Regions from separate parts of the Homo sapiens genome. Here all the other regions are linked to region 3. Evidence: promoter capture Hi-C in human tissues and cell types (Jung and others, 2019). All regions are on one chromosome and are shown on one strand. Each heading gives the region's core, a stretch centred on a gene start or on the middle of the fragment in contact. The rest is flanking DNA. Distances are from core to core; before and after follow the strand shown.

What was found. Contacts are between HindIII fragments. The study calls those that stand out against the background at their distance.
Region 1: a contact is called between a fragment that was not itself captured here and the fragment with the promoter of NR5A1 in region 3, in 2 of the 25 tissues and cell types used here (IMR-90 fibroblasts and dorsolateral prefrontal cortex).
Region 2: a contact is called between a fragment that was not itself captured here and the fragment with the promoter of NR5A1 in region 3, in 1 of the 25 tissues and cell types used here (IMR-90 fibroblasts).

The regions. Positions count from the first base shown.
Region 1 is chr9:124,456,624-124,460,723 of GRCh38, forward strand. ADGRD2 (adhesion G protein-coupled receptor D2) reads left to right here. Exons shown (of 25, transcript NM_001395425.1): 10 at 1-110; 11 at 849-983; 12 at 1,490-1,613; 13 at 1,993-2,098. Among named protein-coding and RNA genes, the nearest start is that of ADGRD2, 8.2 kb to the left of the region's middle. The HindIII fragment of the contact is 3,941 bases long and covers 1-3,540 here.
Region 2 is chr9:124,546,519-124,550,639 of GRCh38, forward strand. The region is part of intron 3 of NR6A1 (nuclear receptor subfamily 6 group A member 1); the gene reads right to left. Among named protein-coding and RNA genes, the nearest start is that of NR5A1, 41 kb to the left of the region's middle. The HindIII fragment of the contact is 3,043 bases long and covers 904-3,946 here.
Region 3 is chr9:124,505,269-124,509,390 of GRCh38, forward strand. NR5A1 (nuclear receptor subfamily 5 group A member 1) reads right to left here and starts at 2,131. Exons shown (of 7, transcript NM_004959.5): 1 at 1,981-2,131. RefSeq lists an enhancer at 1-3,117, promoters at 1,888-2,211, 2,082-2,226 and a cis regulatory region at 2,208-2,213. The HindIII fragment of the contact is 26,734 bases long and covers 1-4,122 here.

The DNA.
Region 1 (4,100 bases), core at 320-2,819, 49 kb before region 3:
GATTGGTGGGCCTATGGCCCTGGTGGCGAGTGTGCAGCGCCTGGCACCCCTGCTGAGCACCTCAATGACCTCAGAGCGGCCCCGAATGCGCATCCAGCACCGCCATGCTGGTGAGCCTGCACCCACCTGCCCACACGGCTGGACTCAGACCTCCCTCCTCAGCCCTGGTGACTGGGAGCTGTCTGAACTTCCACAGACACTCCATTCTATTTCCTGCCTTTGCCCATGCTGTGCCCTGCATCCAGAATGCCCTCTCTCCCTCGATCTCCTAGCAAACACCTATACATCCTTCAGAACCCTGTGTGGGCCTCACTCCCTCTAGGAAGCCTTCCTGTTTTAGCTCTCTCCTCCTCTGAGAGACAGTTCCTCCCGCCTCTGTTACCCCAGAACCTTGAACATGTCTTTCATTGCATTTCTGGTAATTACATAATGGAATTATCTCCCTCTATGGGACACTCCTTGAGTGGTAAGGCTGTTTCTGAGCCATCTCAGCATCTTGGGGCCAAGCCCAAGTACACACTCCGTGAATGTTTGTAGCCTGAATGGGGGTGCACCTGTGGTGAAGCTTCAGGTACAAACACGTGTCCTTCGGGTACCCACCAGTTTCTGGTGACTCATCAATATTCAGGTCCTGCCTCGCGGTGACCGCCCCTCCTTCTCAGTGACCCCCTTCCCCTGGAATTGGAAAAGTCAGATTTGCCTTGGGCAAGTTGCTGAACCTCTCTGAGCAGGAATGGTGGCCTCCTAGGCCTATGGCAGGAAGGAGGGATCCAGACCCTGCTAGCTGGGCCTGCTCAGCAGAAAGACCTCACTCCGAGGTCCAGCCACCCAGCCCCATTTACCCCCAGGCCTGGAGGTGCGGAGCTTACGCTTGAGGGAGGCCAGCACGAGGGGCTGCTTATTCACAATGCCTGGTGGGCGTCCAGAGGGGCCCGGCCATATCCACATTCCTGCGAGTGAAGTGAGGCGACTCCTCAGGAAAGGTGGGTGAGGATGAGGGGGTGTCCAGAGCCCTGTTGGGTTCTGGGTCAAACCTCAGCTCTAACTGTCGCTAGCTGTGCTACTCATCTTTCAGATCCTCAGTTTGCTCGTCTGTAAAATGGGCACATTACTACTTGCCTTGTGGCTTATGAGGTTAAAAGCACCCACCACAGAGTGGTGTTCACTTACTCTCCTCCACCGAACCACACACATCTTCCCTCGGGAGTGGGTGGTGGAGGAAGATCCCCTATGCTTGATGCCATGCAGGGGTGGGGGATTAGGGCAAGGGGCAAAGGGCCTTGGAGTTGTGAGGTTCAGCACATGGACTGTGGCTGCTTGGAATTTTGGCTCTTCCACTTCTTAGCTGTGTGATCTTAGGGAAGTCAGTTTACCTCTCTGAGCCTCAGTTTCCCTATCTCTAGAGTGGGGAGAGCATCACCCTCGGGGCCAACTGGTGGTGCTTGCCCAGCCACCGGGTGGTGCCTTGGTGCCCCTTCCTCTCAGCCAGGCCTCTCTGGAGTCACCGTGATCCACAGCTGGTTCACCTCCAGAGTCTTCCAGCACACCCTAGAGGGACCGGACCTAGAGCCCCAGGCCCCTGCCAGCTCAGAGGAGGCAAACAGGGTGCAGAGGTGAGTAGGCGCCACCTGGAGGGCTGTGAGGGCCTGTGTCCCCTCCCCAAGGAAGGCCAAAGCCCCCGTTCTGGTGGGCGCATGTGTCCTTAGCAGCCCAGGGCCCACCCTTTCCCACCCCTGCCCAACACACACACACTTCTGCACCTGCCAGAGGTGAACACGGCTCAACTCCTGTCTGGGGTTCTGGCTTCTGTGTTGGGACTTACCCAAGTTACCAGCAAGTCCCTAAGGCAAGACTGAACCAGGTGCCACAATTCCTGATATCCCTTCGGACACAGAGGCTGCCACCTCCACCGTAGGGGCCTGGGTGACATGCCGCAGCCAGGCACCATCCCTCCTCCACAGCCACCCTTGAAAGCTCCCATTCTTCCCACAGGTTCCTAAGCACCCAGGTGGGGTCAGCCATCATCTCCTCTGAAGTGTGGGACGTCACTGGAGAGGTCAACGTGGCCATGACCTTTCATCTCCAGCACCGGGCCCAGGTACTGGGTGGCGCTTCTGGGAAGCAGCCATCCTGGCGCACGTGTCCTGGTTCAGTTCCCCCAACCCCCAGTATTTATCCAATGGACAACCAAGGCCTAATAATGCACACAAAAGGTACCTGCAAGCCACCTCCATTGTCCTCAAGGGAATGGGAAGGGAAGCGATTGACTGCAGGGTCACCTTATGGCAGGTGCCACAGATACGCAGCCTTCGTTTAATCCTCCAACCGCGCACTTCATCCAAAGCTTGGGAGGGCTGACGTGATTGGCCCCAGCTTGTAAGTGGCAGAGCTGGGATTTCATTCTACGTCTGCATAACTTGAAAACCTGTTAGTTCCCATGGAGTCATTCACTGCAGCATGTGCAGTGAATTCATTCATTCACTCACTGCAGTGTGTGTACAGGGGCCTTCACATATGAATGCGCTTCATACAAATAAAAATAACCTAAATGTCCATCAGTAGGGGACTACTTTAAATGTTTTGTAGGTCCGGGCACGGTGGCTTACGCCTGTAATCCCAGCACTTTGGGAGGCCGAGGCGGGCGGATCACTTGAGGTCAGGAGTTCGAAACCAGCCTGGTCAACATGGTGAAACCCCATCTCTACTAAAAATACACAAAAGTTAGCCAGGCATGGTGGTACACACTTGTAGTCCCAGCTACTAGGGAGGCTGAGGCAAGAGAACCGCCTGAACCCAGGAGGCGGAGGTTGTAGTGAGCCGAAATCACACCACTGCCCTCCAGCCTGGGTGACAGAACAAGACTCTGTCTCAAAAAAAAAAAAAAGTTTTGTAGATATATATGGTCAGCCCTCCATATGGGAGGGTTTCGCCACCAAGGATTCAAGCAACCATGGGTGGAAAATATTCAGAAAAAATAGCATCTGTACTGAACATCTATAGACTTTTATTTTGGGGGTCATAAACAAGACAGTATAACAGCTATTTATATATTTATATTTTATTTCCTAAGCAAGACAGTATAACAGCTATTTATATAGCATTTAAGTTGTATTAGGTATTACAAGTAATCTAGAGATGACTTAAAGTATACAGGAGCATGTGTTTAGGTTATATGCAAATACCATGCCATTTTATATAAAAAACTTGAGCCTCAGCAGGTTTTGGCATCCTTGGGGGTCCTGGAACCAATCTCCCGCAGGTAATAGGGACCAAGTGTGCAATGGAATAGTCAACTGAAAGTTATATAGGGATTGAGGTATTTCTCTATAAACTGACGTGGAAAGATCTCCAAGATATGTTAAATTTCATTTCACGCTTAATACACAAATTTCTTCTCCCTTCTGAAACACTAGAATGTTTCAGAGAAAGCAAGTCTTCTTTGCTCACAACCAGTAATCTTGGACACACACACACACACACACACACACCAACCACAGCTTATCACTCTCTTGTATATATCGTCAGAATGGGGCTGCGGGTGGATTGTTCATGATGTGGAAAAGCGTCCACGCTCTGATTTTTTTTTTTTTTTTTTTGAGACTGAGTCTCACTCTGTCACCCAGGCTGGAGTGCAAGTGGCACAATCTCAGCTCACTGCAACCTCCGCCCCCCGGGTCCAAGCCATTCTCCTGCCTCAGCCTCCTGAGTAGCTGGGACTACAGGCATGCGCTACCATGTCCAGCTAATTTTGTATATATATATATATTTTTTTTTAGTAGAGATGGGGTTTCTCCATGTTGATCAGGCTGGTCTTGAACTCCCTACCTCAGGTGATCTGCCTGCCTCGGCCTCCCAAAGTGCTGGGATTACAGGTGTGAGCCACCACACCTGGCCCTGTGTCTGTCTTTTCTAGCATTTCATGTAAATGGAATCATCTAGTATGTGTTGAGGCCTGGCTTTTGCTCAGGTCTCATTGGTGAGAATCATTCATGTTGTTGCACATTTCAATAGCTCATTCCTTTTTCACTGCTGAGTAGTACTGAGGTATATGGATGTACCATGATTTGTTTTTCCATTTACCTGCTGACAGAGATTTGACT
Region 2 (4,121 bases), core at 1,175-3,674, 42 kb after region 3:
AATTTGGGTAAAGGGCAGATGAGAATTCTTACTACTGTTGCAAATTTTCTGTAAGCTTGAAATTACTTCAAAATAAAACAGAACAAAGTTTTAATGAGGTGGTAAAGAATTGCCTTTAAAAATTAACTTTGATTTTTAAAAGTTATTGAAAGACTAATATAAACAGCAGTACCCATTTAGAGATGATAAAATCGGTCAAGATGCCATGAAACCACCTGAAGTGTGGAAATCAATACAATGTGCCACACTGCCTCTGTTAAAAACAAAAACTTGGACCATATTTTCAAACTTATAATGTTCTTGCACATATGTATGTTATCTCATGTGATCCTCACAACCACCTTGGAAGGTGTATTATTCTCCCACGCATTTTTGAGATGAGGAAACAGAGCTCAGAGAGGTAAAGAGATTTGCTCAGGGAAGAACTGACAGAGCTGGAGTTTCCATTTAGATCTTCTGATTCTAAAGCTGTACTTGTTCCTTGATGCCATACTGAACTAACAAGTTTTTCAGCAGGGCTAAAATCTATTTGGCAGTGATTTGATTAAAAAGAACAAATGGCTCCTGTGTGCAGTATTACAGGAATGGTTCTGCTGTAACTCTTATCTAAGTCTAAGAAAGAGAATGGCCCTAGCCATGGCTCTTCTATCTTCTCAGAAGGCACCACAAACACTTTTTCTGCTTTGGAACTCATATGCCTACCATTCTTCATTTGCTTGGGCTTAGGCAGTCAACAAAACCCAGAAACCATAAATAACAAAGCTAACTACATCAAAGCTCCACTCAAAACCTGTCGGTGGTGCCTTTGGTTCATGGGCCAAATCTAAGCTCCTTAGCATGGCATTCAAGACCATCTATCATCTGGTTCTGGTGGGACCCCTCATCCTCATCTCTTGCCATAAATGCTATACCCTACATGTAGATAACTATTTGTTAGTCTTTAAACATGCTATTCTGTTTTACATAGTTCTGTCTCTGCATATGTTGCCTGTACTCAGAAAGAAACTTAAAGTGGAAAAATCTGGCAACATCACCTTCCCTAAGTGACATCATCATAACCAAGTGATTCAAGTTAATATCACCAATAATGGGTATACACTTACATCATGTGCTCTTGATATTATGGTCTAAGAAGGACACAACATCATTTCTATGGCATTCTTGCGAAAAATGCATAACCTGCATGTATTCGTGAGGAAACTGACAAGCCCAAATTAAGGGATATTCTACAAAATACATGACCTATTTGCTTCAAAATCGACAATGTTAATAAAGACAAAGAAAGACTGACGAACTATTTCAGATTAAAAGAGACTGAAAAGACATAAAAACTAAATGTAATGTGATTTCCTGAAGTGGCTTCTAGATCAGAGAAAATAAAATTGCTATAAAGGACACTGAGATGACTGGCAAAAATTGAATAAGATCTGCTAATAAGATAGTACTGTGTCAGGTTAAATTTCCTGATTTTGATAACAGTACTGTGATTGCTAGAAATAAAAGGAACACTGCCTATGCCTCACTCTCAAATGGCTAAGAAGGTGCGTACATGCAGGCACACACACACTTACTTACCTGTGGGAAGTGGGGAAGGTGGAAGAGAGAGACAGAAAGAAGAGCAAGGGGGAGGGGGGAGGGAAAATAATAAAACAAATAGCATGATAAAGCAAATGTGGCAAAATGTTAACAATTGGTGAATTTAGGTAAAGGGCATATGGGAATTATTACTACTGTTGCAACTTTTCTGTAAGCTTGAAATTATTTAAAAATAAAACAGAACAAAATTTTAAAGTCTTAATTTAAAAACAAACAATCTTTTGGCAGGCATATGCTCATGCCTATAATCCCAGCACTTTGGGAGACTGAGGCGGGAGGATTGCTTGAGCTCAGTTTAGCTCAGCTGAACTTGATCCTCAGTTCAAGAGCTGCCTGGGCAACATGCTGAAAACTTGTCTCTACAAATTTTTTTGGTATAATAAAATGTAAAAAAAAAAGTTCATAAGGAAAATGTAAGAAATGTAAAAAAAATGTTTGTAAGGAACACGAACTTTGATTTCTTTAAGATTCTGCTCAAATGTTATCCCTCCTTGAGATTTCTCAGTGCTTCATGCAGACCTCTGTGTTGTGTCCTGGGGCACTTTTTACCCTGGTAAAGTGATATGGCGATGCCACAGGATCACTGCCTCACAATGCCATTCTGCAAACATCACCTCCTCCAAGAAGCTTTCCTTGACCTTTATACTTTTGAACTAGTTAGCAAGTTATGAGACCACAGAGTTAAGGAAATTTTTTATTTTTTCACAGTTACTTAACTAACATGACACCCACCCCCACCACCCGCCACGAAGCTGACTGTATCCTCATTTCTCCTCTGACAATATTTTCCCCATCCCACTTCCTGCCATGGCCCTCCATCACAGTCAATCCATCTAACCAGGGAGCATCCTATCACTACTGAGTTATTTGCTGAAGGACCAACAGAAAAGTAGGACTTGATCATGGCCCTTGAGGGGCTCATTGTCTAATAATGAGGGAAACAGATGAGTGAACAGAGAAAGATAACACAAGATGACCAGGGTTATGGCAGAAGGCATGCAAAAAAGCTGTGGAAGCACAGGAGGGTTATCTGGTGGGGGATGGTGTCAGAGAAGGCTTCTTAGAGGATGTTACAAATAAACGCTGAACCTTGAAGTCAGGAGTAGAAGAAGGGGTGGATGTTTAAACCCCCTCTTCTTCCAGGCAGATGAAACCACATGTGCAAAACAGGAAACATCACTGGGTTTTTGAAGAACTAGGATGGAATGCAGATTGTGAGTGGGGAACACCAAATGGAGAAGGAAAGGGATCAGGTGGCTGATGCCAGTGTCAGAGGGGCCTTGAAAATCACCTTAAGGAGCCTGACTTTATCCCGAAGACTGCAAGATGGGTAAGGAACATACATGGGGGATACTAGTGCAGTAGTGGGGATGGACAGACAGGGCCCAGTCTCCATTCACCACCCTTCTTTAGATCTTCCTCATTGCTTTGCTAAGGAGTTTTCTGACCAGCCAACTTTCAGGTCTGAAAAGATACTCAGTTCCATATCCAAAGATGGAGAACAACAGAGAGCTGTCTTGCACATAGGTGAAAAAGCCCCAGCCACAAATGGCAGCTGCATTTTTTTAATAGTTAATTTTTTAAATTTTGAGGTAAGTTTAGACTTTATACAAGAGTTGCAAAAATAGTATGGAGAGTTCCCATACACCCTCCTCCTTTTAACAATGGACATAATCATGTCTAGTCATCAAAACTAGGAAATTAACCTTGGTACAATACTATTAACCAAAGTACATACTTTATTTTGATTTCTCCAGTTGTTTCACTGATATCTTTTGTTCCAGAACACAATCCAGGGGCCCACATTGCATTTAGCTGTCATGCCTTCATAGTCTTCTCCAATCTGTGACAGCTCAGTCTTTCCTTGTTTTTTTGTGACTTTGACACTTTTCAAATGGGTATTTTGTCAAATGTCAGTTATTCTGAAGAATGTCCCTCAATATGGGCTTGTTTGTTTTCTCAGGATTAGATTGAGTGAACTTACCTCTCTGTGTGTGTATATGTGTGACCTTCTCAGTGTTTCATATCAGGGGGTATATACAATGTTGGTGTGTTTTATTGGTACTGTTAATCTTGATCACTTGGCTAAAGTTATGTCTGTCAGAATTCTCTAAATAAACTTACTATTTTTCCCTTTGTAATTACTATATATTTGCAGACTATGCAAATATTCTGTTTCTGTTGACACTGATGCCACTTATTTAGCATCCATTAGTAGGTTTTGCTTGTCGCAATTATTACTGTGATGTTCTAATGGTGAATTTTTTTTTTTTTTTTTTTTTTTGGTTTGTTGCCCAGGGTGGAGTACAATGGCATGATCTTGGCTTACTGCAACCTCCGTCTCCCAGGTTTACCTTAGCCTCCAGAGTAGCCGGGACTGTAGGCACATGCCACCGCGCCAGCTAATTTTTGTATTTTTTTTTTGTATAGACGGGGTTTCAGCATGATACCAAGGCTGGTCTTGAACTCCTGAGCTTAAGCAATCCACCTGCTCCGGCCTCCCAAAGTATTGGGATTACAGGCAT
Region 3 (4,122 bases), core at 881-3,380:
CTGTCTGTGAACCCAGCTGGGTCGTGGCGAATGCCACGCGGGTGGCTGGTCGCACTACAGCGTGGAAGTGGGTAAGGGCGAGTGGCGACCGTGGCCGAGGCTCGGATTCACGGGTGGAAGCCAGATTCTCCCATGGGGCCCACCACATCTCCTCACTCGAGCCTGTAGCAGCTCTCTCCCCGTCTCGGGTCTTCAGTTGCCGCATCTGTGAAGTGGGTAGATGACCGCTCTTCCTCGCTAAGGGTGGGTCGTGAGGATGAACCCAAGCAGTAGGGGCAAAGCACGCGTGTGGCCTGGCGGAAGCGCTCAGTGGCGCCCCTCTGGGGAGATCTGGGGCGAACCCCTTCTGCTCGCTAGCCTCAGGTCGCTGGGCTGGAAATGGGACTCGTGGAAATCCCATTTTACAAATGTCCGAGGCCTGGGGGGACCCGAAGCCTCTACGGGCGCAGGAGCTGGGAGAGGAGCCCGGAGGCAGGGCCCCGCTGCTCCCCTCGGAGCTCTCACGGGGGGGTGGGGCGAGGAAGAAAGCGCTGGGCGGTCTTGGGGACAAAGGGGTTCCCGGGCCTATGGGCCAAGCAGTTGCTCTGGGCTAGGGACCATCCGCGGGGCCACTGTTTTTCAGCTGGAGAAACGGACCCGAAAGGAAGGGGCCTGCTTGCATCCTGCCTCCGCCCCCGCTGGCACCTGGGGTCAGAGAGAGTTTGGGGACCATGAGGCCAAAAAGCTGCGATCTTCAAGCAGGAAAATACCGCAATTTTGCATTGACAGCGGCGCAACCCACCAAAAGGCTCCATCTGGGCTCCCGCCCGCCTGGAGGCCTCGGGCTTCGGTTGGAGCTGGGCCTGGGGCCTGCAAGTTGTGGCCAGAGAACCCCCCGCGCAGACCGCACTCAGCTGGCTCACCCACAGAAGGAGCAGAACCCGCAGACTAGCTGTGCAAGCTCGGGCAAGTCACTTCTCCTCTCTGAAACGAGAGCCTCAGTTTTCTCCGAGCATAAAGTGGAACATGTTGGCTTTACAGATGGGGTACTGCGGTTTCCATGCAAGAATCTTGGATGAGGAGGGAAGAAAGAGCCAGAGACCCTGTTAATCGTACCCCCCGCACCCCCAAACCCCTGAGAAACAAGAGCATCTGCCCGAGCTGGAGGTGGGGGTCACTGCCGCCTCTGAACAGCTCCCCACCACAATGGAGCCCTCAGACAGTGACTGCAGGAGGGAAGGGGGTTGGTGGATGATGGGCTGGGGTGCCCCAGTTGGCTGTTCTAAGGTAGAGCTCACCCGAGGTCTCCTGGAAACCTGGAGCTGGACACACAGGCCCCAGCCGCCGGGGTTGGGTGGGGGCTGGGCTCAGGCCCTTCTCCCTCTATCTCCAATCCCCTCTCCCCAAGGGTTTCTACTCTCACCGGCTGGAAGCCCATGGCTCCTCTGCACTCCAGGCTCCGAGGCACCCACCCCCACAGGTTCCAGGTTCCAGCCCACCGCCTGGGGAGTTCCAGCCCCTCATCCACCCACCCAGGGAGGGAAGCCTAGACCTGGCCCGGCCGCAGAACCCAGGCTGACAGATGGATGCCGGAGACAGACACACGGATACACAGCAAGACTCAGAGAGAGCCACAGAGACAACACAGAAACTCAGGTGGGGGACAGAGCCCCAAGACAGGCCCAGAGCCCTCCAGACACACTCACAGACCTCTAGGCTCAGACCCACACAGCCTGGTGGATGCCTGGCCAGAGACAGCGGGACACCAGCGGACCTCCATGGGGCTTGTGGTCACAGGCCTGGCTCCTCCCATCGGCAGCCCAGGGAAGAAGAGGGGGTAGCATGGTGGGAGGGTGAGTCTGGGAGACCCCTGGCACCTTCCCTGCCCAGAGCAGGGGGCACCGGTCACTAAGTGGAGCAGGCAGTGGCCGGCCCAGGCTGCAGGGAGGCACTGCAGAAGGAGGCTGGCCATTAGAGGCCTGGGCCAAGGCCCTCACTTACGAAGCGGAAGCAGCGCTCTCACACCGGATGAGGGTGGCAGTGGGCACCAGGGGTCCAGGGGGAGGCTCCGGCAGCCCAGGTGGGACGGTGGCGACTGTGGGTGCGCAGAAACCCCCTCACACCACGGCGGGCGGCAGCCGGACAGCAGGCTGGCCCTGTCCGTCCGTCCTCCTCCTCCTCCCCGCCCTGGTGGGGGGGCCACCGGAGGCCCAATTGGTCTCTGCCCCCACGTGACTCTGCAGGCCTCTCGCCTTCTTTGTTGGTGTTTCTCTTCATTTACGTCTATTTTTTCTTCTTCTCCTAAAAGAAAAAAAATACCCCTATCTATCTGGGGGCTGAGGGTGGGGGCGGAGGCCAAGGCACTGCAGAGGCCTTGGCCAGCTGGCTGTTCCAGGCCCGCTGTGGGAGCCCAGAGGCAGGGACCCCACAGAGGCGGGTAGGCAGCCCCGCTTGTTAGAAACCGGGTGGGAGTGGGGCTTGATTTATGGGCTGCTCCCCCACCCGGCCTGCCGCCTGCTCCTCTCTCCTTGTGAATGGCTACCTCCCTGGGGCCTGGCCTGGCATGGTCTGGCCCAGCCCGGACATTGGAGTAGAGTCAGGACAGGCCAGTGCGGAGGCAAGGCCATGGCGACTTGACTAGGCGGCCTGCTGCTTCCACCTCTTTTTCCTCTTCCATCAGGTGGAAGAAGAGGGGGGCCGGAAGGGGAGCAGGTGAGCGGCCTGGACACCTGGTGCGTGCATGCCACGGTGGCCTCTGAATGTCCTCATCTGCTGTGGGCTGCTGATGTTCCCAGTCGATGGCTGGAAAAACTGAGGCTGGGCTGAGACTGCCTCTGAGGCCAAGTGGTGGCTATAGTGGCCCCAGGTTGAACCAAGTATGAAGCTAGTCCAGGATAGGACAGGGTAGCAGGAAGGGGCCCTTATCTAGAAGGCTAGGCCTCCCTAGACAACCTGGGACGTCCCCATCCAATCTCTGGGCCCAGATGGGCTCTGAAATATCCTGTTCCTGTAGGGCCCGGGTTGCAGGGTGTTGTGCCGCTCCCACGGTGACTGGATCTTTTGTGTGTTCCTCTGTTTGTCTCACATTTACTGAGCGCACACTTAGGGGTCAGGCACTGTTCCAGGCACCAGGGATCCCATAGGAAAGAGAAGAAAAGTCTCTGTCCTCAGAGGATTTACCTCCGTGCCTTTCATCTTGGGAGAGCAGGGAGGGGCACAGGGTGACTATGGGGCAGTCACTGTTGAGAACCACCCCTCCTCCCACATATCCCTTCATTGGAGGAAATAAATAAATCACACCCAACACCTCACTTATCTGGAACAAGAGGGACTTTTCTGGATAAGTGAAGTGAAGCCAACTCTCCCTATATATATTTTTTCATGGAAGGCCACTGAAAAAGTAGAAACGCCAACTATATTTAAAACCTATGTGTTTTCCAGCCAGTCACTGTGGCTCATGCCTGTAATCCCAGCACTTTGGGAGGCCAAGGTGGGCGGATCACCTGAGGTCAAGAAGTTCAAGACAAGCCTGGCCAACATGGCAAAACGCCATCTCTACTAAAAAATAGAAAAATTCACCTGGTGTGGTGGCTTGTGCCTGTAGTCCCAGCTACTTGGGAAGCTGAGGCAGGAGGATCGCTTGAACCTGGGAGGCAGAGGTTGCAGTGAGCCAAGATTGTGCTACTGCAGTCCAGCCTGGGCGACAGAGTGAGACTCCGTCTCAAATAAAATAAAATAAAATAAAATAAAATAAAATAAAATAAAATAAAACCTAGTGTGTGTTTTCCTCATTATGCCACTTAAAATTGTGTGTGAACATACAACAATAATACTGATAGACTGTAGTCCCGGCTACTCGGGAGGCTGAGGCAGGAGGATGGTTTGAACCCAGGAGTTGGAGCTGCAGTGAGCTATGATTGTGCCACTGCACTCTAGCCCGGGCAATAGGGTTTTAATAATTAATAATCATTAATTCAATAATAATAATTTTTATAATATAATTTCACCAACAGTCATAGCTAACTGATCGAATATATTCCACCTACAACGTAACAGACAACTTATTCCTCAATGTGCATGACCTTGTAATTATGTCTTTTTCACCTAGAGAAGTTCTTACAAGATATACTTCTCTTGCATATG